Regions from separate parts of the Homo sapiens genome. Here region 1 is linked to region 2. Evidence: promoter capture Hi-C in 16 types of primary human blood cells and fetal thymus (Javierre and others, 2016). All regions are on one chromosome and are shown on one strand. Each heading gives the region's core, a stretch centred on a gene start or on the middle of the fragment in contact. The rest is flanking DNA. Distances are from core to core; before and after follow the strand shown.

Evidence for each region. Contacts are between HindIII fragments. The CHiCAGO score rates a contact against its expected background, and 5 or more counts as called.
Region 1: a contact is called between a fragment that was not itself captured here and the fragment with the promoter of CACNA2D1 in region 2, in 1 of 17 cell types (endothelial precursors). The highest score is 5.4, in endothelial precursors.

What each region holds. Positions count from the first base shown.
Region 1 is chr7:82,249,106-82,253,945 of GRCh38, reverse strand. The region is part of intron 3 of CACNA2D1 (calcium voltage-gated channel auxiliary subunit alpha2delta 1); the gene reads left to right. Among named protein-coding and RNA genes, the nearest start is that of CACNA2D1, 190 kb to the left of the region's middle. The HindIII fragment of the contact is 1,590 bases long and covers 1,776-3,365 here.
Region 2 is chr7:82,441,299-82,445,741 of GRCh38, reverse strand. It overlaps CACNA2D1 (calcium voltage-gated channel auxiliary subunit alpha2delta 1), which reads left to right and starts at 1,965. Exons shown (of 39, transcript NM_000722.4): 1 at 1,965-2,377. The coding sequence starts at 2,283. RefSeq lists an enhancer at 2,960-3,523. The HindIII fragment of the contact is 3,454 bases long and covers 1-3,354 here.

The DNA.
Region 1 (4,840 bases), core at 1,321-3,820, 190 kb after region 2:
GAATCTAGGGGAGGGTAAAGCTATTCATCAAACAGTGTTGTCAAGAAAACAAAAGAGTTTATTTCTTTCCAAAAAAAATCTGCCATCTAAAAAATATTTTGACCTCATGTTTCTTAGCCATGTGGGAACATACTAAATTCAAGGTTCAGTAGCTTCAGGTAATCTGCTCTGAGACCTTGCAAGTTTCTGGAGAATAAAGACCATATATACATTATTTCTAGTGTAAAAATCATGTAATATCATAAAAACACATTATATAGGACCATGACATTTATTAAACAAAAAGTTATATAAGAATTTAACATGAAAGATCATTAACATTAATGTTCATTTATTTTGTATGCCGGTATCTCAAGACTTCTCAGATTCTTTTAGTTTATCTTACTTTTGTGTATCAAAATATTTATTGGTATCTTTTAGATTTCCTTGTAACCTGAAACCATCTTCCAGAGCCAGTTTTTCTCATCATGCCCTTGATGAAAGTTCTTGAACATTGTGTGATACATGCAGTATGACAATACCTTAATTACAAAGTTCCTTTCTCTCTTCATGGATCTCCTTTTCAGTAAAATGTAGAAGTCTGGCCATGGCCCTATGCCTGCCTCACATGATGCGCTTATCATTTCTGGTCTGTGTTTCTGTCTTCTTGCTTTAGATTCTCACAGCCCTGTGATTTGATTCATTTTCCATACTACTGCCAATCATCTTTTTCAGATTCAAAACTTATCACTTTTTCTATCCCAAATTCTGTAATGGTTTCTCATTCTCTTTGTTATGAAATCCAAATTATTTTGAAAGTCAAATCCAGTATAAGCCCTTCTTCTCCAGCCATTCCTCTCTATAATCCACTCACACTTCCATTTCCCTGAATGTTCACTTTGTGCCCTGACCTTTGGACACCCTTAATTTTATTCCTCAGCTGGTTAACTTCTCATTCTTTAAAATTGGGCTTTCTCCACAGAACCTTCGTATGTTTTAGCCTCTCTTATCTCTCCCTCAATCCACCCTGCCAGCTACCACAATTTGTGTCTGGGTTAAGTGTTTGTTTTTTTTTTTCTGACGAATTCTCACTCTGTCACCCAGGCTGGAGTGCAGTGGCGTGATCTTGGCTCACTGCAACCTCTGCCTCCCGGGTTCAAGCAATTCTCCTGCCTCAGCTTCCTGAGTAGCTGGGACTACAGGCACGCACCACCACGCCCAGCTAATTTTTGTATTTTTAGTAGAGACAGGGTTTCACCATGTTGGCCCAGATGGTCTCGATCTCTTGACCTCATGATCTGCCCGCCTTGGCCTCCCAAACTGCTGGGATTACAGGCGTGAGCCACCACGCCCGGCCAAGTGTTTCCTCCTCTTGCTTAAATAGCATAGTTCTTATCAAATGGCAGTGACATTTTCTAGTAGTGTAACACCTACTATTTTTGTAACTCCTTGAGGTCAGGAACTCTAAGTCTCTACTGATGAGTGCAGCGGGCATTCAATAAATATATGCTTAATAAATGAGCCAATGCATGTTTAATTAAGAGAGTATGGATGGTATAGTTGTGATAAGGCCAGACAGGCCTGCCAGTTTTCAAATATTGGCTCCACTACTCATTAGCTGTTACTGAAAGGCAAGTAACTTCACCTCTCTTTACTTTGGAAAAATGAGTGCTATAAGCATAACTACCTCAGAGCATAGTTGTAAGGATTACATCAAGCAGTTTGCAAAATGCTTGGCCTATCATCAGCACTCAAATAAATGTTTATTATTATTATTGTTGCAAAGGGAAGAAGCTTACTGAAATTTAGTTTCTATTTTGCCCCTTGCAAAGCATACTCGCATTCTCATTTTAAAACAAGAAGAATAGGGTAGGATGTTTTTGGAAAACAATCATTGTTATATTGTCTAATAAATAAAATATAGTAAATGACATAAAAAATTGAAATCTCTTGTATTTTGAAAGACACAGATTGGGGTATTCCAAAGTACATATATCATAGAGAAATAAAGTGATAATCACTAGGCTTTTTATCTTGCATGTCCCTTGTAGTTCTGCGACTCATAACTGTTTATGGACAAAAAATGTTAAAGGTTGCCCATGGGAAGCTAAGGATGTGTCATCAGATAGGTCCAGATTTGCATCCTATCTCCTGCTCCTTCCAAGCTATGTAACCACTAATGGACTACTTGATATTTTCTAATTGGGAGTTATTCTAATGAATCTAATGTATGGCATACACAAAGCTGGAAAAAGATTTTCAATGTATGGCTCTGAAAATGAAAAGAACAGAGGGCATAATAACATCAAATCACTTACATACCTAGAAAAGCAACGGAAAAAAGCATTACAGCTTAATCCTTTCACACCCATATTGTCCTTGGGCAGATAACCAGTGGAGTAATTGCTTTACAAGGATCTAGTTGTCACAGCACAATGATAATACATTGTACTCTTAAATTATTTTATATATGTGTGTATGTAAATATTTCCTTTGAGGTACCATGAATGTACAATGAAATGCACAAATCTTAAGTTTGAAATTCAGTGAGTTTCGACAGAAGCCTACAGCAATGTATAACAAATTACTATCAAGATATAGATAATTTCCAGTACCCAAAACATAGTTTTGTGTCTCTTTTTGTGATTGTTCTTAGTACAGGATTTAAAATCTCTGTTTTCAGATATCACAGCAGCAACCTATTTTAGGTGGTAGTGAATTGATCATTTTACAGGCTTTTTAAAAATGTGGAAATTATACAAGTGGCAGAAGCAGGTGATTTCTGGCTTTAATACTGTTCAGTAACTTCTTATTACATCATGGCGTTGAGAGATGGGAGATACAGGAGAGTATGAGAACAGCATTCATTATTATGTTCCCTTGCTTAAAGAAGATTTTTGAATACAGATACAGATATCTGACTTGTTATGTGTCATATGACTGCTTCTTATAGTTTTTGGCTTTATTTATTCAAATAAATAGATAAATATGTACAACAGACTCTCTAATTTTTGAAAATATATGGGAAAAGGTTATTAAAAATGATACAAATCAAGTCCTGAGATATTCTTGTGGCAAACTGTAAGTGATTTTTGATTGCTGATAGTCTGGGAAAAATGCTAGTGATAGAAAGCAATTATTTCATGTGACAGGTATTTGAAATTACCAGTAAACCAGAACTCTTGTGAAATCTTTTCAAGAAAAGAAGAACAGACAAAAGGGCCATTATTTAATTTCTTGGAAGAATGCTATGTACTAAAAGCAAAATGCTAAGTAAGAAATTAAATTAAAATAAAGTTACTATATTATGATGTTAGAAGTTGGTATTTGTTAAAATTTGAGAGCTAACACATAAAATTATTGCTTAAGCAATAACAATAGAAGCTTAGACTCCTACTAGAATAGTGAATCTCCTCAGAGAAAAGATAATTAAAGCCACTAGGTGCAGATCCCTAAGAATTGCCTGTATGTACCTACTTATGTGATGAAGTTAAAAGGATATTTCAGGATATATCCACAGGAAATTATATAAGATTTTATATGTTATTTAAGAAACAAAAATGCTTTCCTACAATGAGAATTTATTTTTATAGGATTATGCTTTTCTCTCTCCACGTAGTATTATAAAGCTTCCTTAAAATGCAGGAGAATTGCAGAAGAGCAGTAGAGACAGTTTTGCCCATTACTTACTACTGTGGTTTGAATGTATTCCCCAAAAGTTCTTATGTTTGAAACTTAATTCCCAATGTAGCACTGTTGGGAGGTGGAGCCTAATAAGAGGTGATTGGGCAATGAGGGTGGAGACCTCATGAATGGATTAATGTCAATGTCTCAGGAATGGGTTAGTTATCATGGGAGTGGGTTATTACAAATCCTGCCACTGGTGCCTCTCTCTGTTTACTTGCTTGCTTCTGCCTTCACCATGGGAAGACCCTCGCTGGTGCTAGCACCATGCTCTGGGACTTGACAGTCTCCAAAACTGTGTGCCAAATAAACTTCTGTTCTTTATAAATTACCCAGTCCATGGTTTTCTAATATAGCAGCAGAAAATGGACTAAGACACCTACTCACCAATCATTTTCCTATTTCCCCCCTTCTCAAAACTCTCATACTGTAACTGTCATAAAATGTAGATAGGATTATGTAGGATTGATCCTAGGCCCAGCTTCAGGGATAGGTTCTGATTGGTTCAGGACTGAGATAAAATCTGTCTAAGCCAATCAGCACAACATGCGTGCATGATTATAGAGATCACATCAAGGGTATTTTAATAGGTGGGTTCAGTATTATTGTTTGATGGTTGTGAGAATATGACCCTTATTCTCCCACTGGACGGATGAAAAGGATGATTTCAGGTTTATTTCCAACCATTTTGTAACTATGAGGTTAGCAATGCTGAACATGATGTGTTAAAGATAATGCTAACATATGAAGAAGTTAAGAACCAAGGAAATGTCTTTCTTTAGCCAGTCAAAATGATCTTTCATAATCTGGTTCTGGAACACCTTTTCAGCCTCATTTTGTTTGTTCCCTACATTTGCTTTTTAACCAAGCCAAATGATCCTGCAAAGAATTCCATTCCCGGATTATTGTGTGCTTTTTATTTTATCCTAAGTCTTTTTTTCTACAAGTCCATGTACCCAGAATCCTTTGACTAATTATATTCCTTGAATGCCTAGCCAACATTTATTCCTTAAGACTCAACTCTAGAGTAACTGTCTCTTTGAAGTATTTCCTAGTGTCTTTTACCCCGGTTACATCTACTGAGTATGGTGCTCCTCCTTTGTGCTCCCATGACACCTTGGGAAAACATCTATGTTGAATTTTAAGAGGGCATTTTTTTTTTTTTTTGAGATGGAGT
Region 2 (4,443 bases), core at 716-3,215:
CAGAATATATAACAATGGTATTTTTAGGTAGTGAGGCTATTGATACCAACATATCACATAGACAATAATGGGCATCTCTAATTCTGCTCTTCTTAGTCCTCATGCTGGGGAAGAAAGTCTGCTTTTGAATTATTAAAAATGGAAGAAATGATGGATTTGACTATTTACTTATCTAATTTTGGAGTGGAATGCTATCTTCAGTTATATAAAATATCCCTCCTGAGCTGTAGTTCTCAATCCCATTACATCCCACTTCATCCCTCATTTGCGCAGCTCCTGCTGCCACAGTATCCATGCCTAGCATAAAACAAACTAAGTTAAGTCACGGTGGGGTGCCTTTTGTGAGGCCACTCAGAGTAGAAAGAAACAAAGAGCAAGACAGAGATGCGAAGAACATAAAGAAAACAAATAAGGCATTAAAAAAAGGAGAAATAAGTGGGAAGGAAAAATAAATTCACCAGGCTAAGCATCATAAAATCACACACGCTCTTAAAATTTGGCCAGTAATTAATAGTAGTAGTATTATTATTAGTCTTTGTTTTGGGAGATTGCCTTCAGAGAGCTGGAAAATTCATTTCGAATTAATAAGGGTCTTTTTCTTTCAGAAGCATCTCCTAAAAATAAGAACGGGCTAATTAAAAATCTGACAGCCACCCCGATACTTACAGAATTTTTGCATATGCAGGATAGTCATCACAAATTGTATTCTCTGCACGTCATGTCAAAAGTATTCTCATACACTACTAGAGGGAGCTTAAGAATTTAAGGTGTGCAAGAATATATTTCTATCTTTGGCCCACCAGGGCCCTCTTGTAGGAGGCCTGTGTTGGGCGGGAGAGGCCTAGTCGCAGACCCTGTCTTTTCAAGGAGAAAGCCCGCCACTGCTTCCTCTGAGTCTGGAGATAAAACCAGTCCGGCATTGCTACTCCCTAGCTCTCTCCCCCTCCCTTAATTCCTCCTCTACATTTCAGGCGCATTTCTCAGAGTGCCACCTGTTCCTGCTGCTTACCCTTTTCATGCCTTCGCATTGACAAAAGTGAGCTCACCCTGCGGTAACCTTGTCAGGCAGGGCAGGCCAGTGGCCAGAGCAGGGCGTTAGGACCCTTTTGGAGGTAGTCCCAACTGGGATGCTGCAAAGCGCTTCTCTTACTACTGTCCTCCCTAGATGCAGAATTCGTCCCTCCACCCCTCTGTCCAATGGAACCACAGGGCTGGGAAGATTTTACAGCGTCAGTACTTCTCTGTCCGTCCACAGCCCGGTCCCTGAGGCTCTGTCCTCGCCAGGTGAGCCGAGCAGTACCTGGGCGTGGGACCGCTGGCACAAAGGGCACCCAGCCCCGGCAGAGGCTCTAACCTATGGCACACGCGGGCATATAGTGCCACCTGGTAGAGAGTCAACAGTGGTGCTTTAAAATGCAATACAAACCCCTCCTACATTTGTTGTCAAATCACTTCACGATTCCCAGGCAGGCACTGGATTCTGCGCCTGGGAGTAGGGCTGGGGGGGAACGCTGCCTGCATGTGCAAAAATAACCCCCGAAGACGCGAGCCAAGTCCTGGGTTGGAGCCTCTGCAGCCTGTGGATGCCCGCTGGGCGGCTGGCCGTCCCCCGGGAGCCCCGCGGGGCTGGTCCGCTCCGCCTGCGCACGCCGGGCGGCGGGAGCGAGCCGGCGCCGACTTTGGGAGTTCCTGGCTGCCTTGTATGGAGGGCTGCTCCCGGCCCGTCTCCGCCCGACTGCTCTGACGCCCAGCCCTCCCGCTGCCCACCCCCAGCCGCCTCCCTCTGACTTGCCTAAGAAGCCAGACGGAGCCTCTCGCTTCCACAAGTCTCTCTGCCTGCCATTCCCCGATTCCTGCAGCCACCCCCACCCTCCAGCGCCGTCACCCCTCCTCCGCCCCCGCCCCCGCCTCCGCCTTCGCCTCGGCAATCGGGGGAATAAATCAGGGAGGAAACCGAGAGGGAGAGCGAGAGCGCGCGAGCGCCGGCGGGCTCGCCGAGGTCTGTTTCCAAAGTCGCCCTTGATGGCGGCGGAGGCAAGGCGGCCGCGGCGCGGAGCAGCCGACGCACGCTAGTGGGTCCGCCCGCCACCGCCCCTTCCTCGGCGTCCGCTCCCGCCCTTGCCGTCCCCCGCGCGGCTCCGCGCCTCGGGCCCCGGGCGCAGCCAGCCCTCCAGACGCCCGCGGTCCCGGCGGCGTGTGCTGCTCTTCCTCCGCCCGCGGTTTCCAGCGCCGCTCCTTCCCCCGCTTGGGCAGGGAGGGGGCATTGATCTTCGATCGCGAAGATGGCTGCTGGCTGCCTGCTGGCCTTGACTCTGACACTTTTCCAATCTTTGCTCATCGGCCCCTCGTCGGAGGAGCCGTTCCCTTCGGCCGTCACGTAAGTCGGCGGGCCGGGCAGGGAGCGCCGGCCGAGGGGCGCCGCGGGAGTTGGGGGTGGGGGTCGGTTCCCGAGTCGCGGGGCTTTTCCGCCCGTGGGGGTGGGGAGCGAGCGGCCGGGGAGCCAGGCTCGGATGCGGAGACGCCGGGCAGGCGGTGCGCGCCGCTCGCCGCTGGAATGCGTCCCGAACCGGCGTCTCGGGCGCCTCCACGGGGCCGGGCACTGGGGGCCGACTGTCCCGGGAAGCGCCCGCCGACGACTCGCGGCGTCTCAGCCCGTCTCTAACGGGATTCTCTAGACTTCAGAGTGCAGCCGTACTGGGGAAAAAAGTTTCCAGCCAGCTCACCCGCTCTGATTCAACCCAGTTCAATAAAAAGTTATGTTTTGGTTGGGTAATTTACAAACAGGTAATTTCAGGCTTGCCGAGGTAGCGTGGACTTCCCCCGCACTTGGCCTCGGAGATGCTCTTTAATTGCTGTAGTGCCCAAACTCGTTTTATCCCACGTTACTGGATGCACTTGACAGCCTTCCGATTAGACGCGTGCTGGCTCCCCGCGGCCGAGCGTGCTGTCCACGCAGGGGGCTCGCAGGTACTGGGACCACGCGATCCAACCTCCCCAACCCATTATTTGAAACATCTAAGTGTCGGCAGACACGCGGTCCCTGTTCTTCAAATGAATAGAGCCTATTCTTTGAAGGAGGGACTATTTCCAGTCTCCTACAAATTTTCTTTTATTTTTACCATTTCTAAAATAACTTTTAAAAACCTCGCTGCTGTTCTGGAAATAGAGGGCTTATAGGTAGCTATAGTCACACCACAGGAAGGGAATGAAAAATAATAATTCTCTCCTTTCTTAGCAAAATAGAATCAAACTCAATGGCACATATAAATATATACATATTTTTTAATGCACCGAATAGCCTATCCGGCATTCTGGGAAAGCATTTATTTTGGTTCTTGGAGCTTCTTTAAAGCTTCTAAAGGTAGGTAATCTTAAGTGGATGAGTCACTTTAATGCATTTTACATAACAAAAACAAAGCCCAAGGTAGCTTTCCCGGTATTTATGCTGCTGGGAATTACTTGCTGTCCTTTGTTGGCTGAGTGCTGAATACAGGAGTTTTTGGTGGAAAGTAACAGTGAATCTTTAGCGGTTGAAATCCTGCGGCTATTATTTAAGATTCAGTTTTAAGTATTTATTACCTTAGGTGTCAGTGCAAGAATCTGGAGGATGCACATTCTATCCCGGAGAAGGGGAGTGTCTAATTTTTGTTGTCATTGAGTTACAGTAATGTTCCTCTTTAGATAATCTTCCATAAAACTGATTGCAGATCCTTTTTGTTATGAAGCAAAAGGGTAAATGCCATCTGGAGATCTTCGTTTAATTGGCAGGATGTTCCAGTCAGATATTTTTAAACATAAAAAGAGTAAGAATCACCCTAAGGATGCTTCAGAATTATTTACTCTTATTAAGGCATCACACTTCCATTTAATTTTTTAAGTCTGTTTGTTGCTTGGCCTGTAAAGTGAGAACTCAAATGAGTCGCTTGCATTCTGTGTCAAATAAATAAGTGGCTCTTTAAAAAACAATCACTTCCTAAATGTGTTCCGATTACTCATTTTTACAGTGTTGTTTTTAACTGACAATTTATCAATATTTTTATCATGGGAGGGGATACATCATCATACCATTGGGGAAAACTACAACAAAATACAACCTTTTATTCCTCAACATACTGTGGTAAAATATTAATGTAAAAATCCTTATTGTTAAGAAGAACATCTGCAATAATGCTTTCCTAAAATTATAAGTAAATCAATTTTCATGGTCAGAAATTTACTAGACACAAGAAAGAGTATATATAGTGGGTTAAAATGGGAAGTAGGACATCACAATTTCTTTTCTTTGGAAGGATCTGAAATTTTTTTTAACGATGAAAATTCAAGATATTTTCAAATTATATAAGACATTGATTATTTAATGAATGAAATACTTAATAAAAGGTTTTGTGGAGCGAAGTCAATCTCCTGTAGGTAATCTTAACAATATTTTTGGAAGCCTTCTGC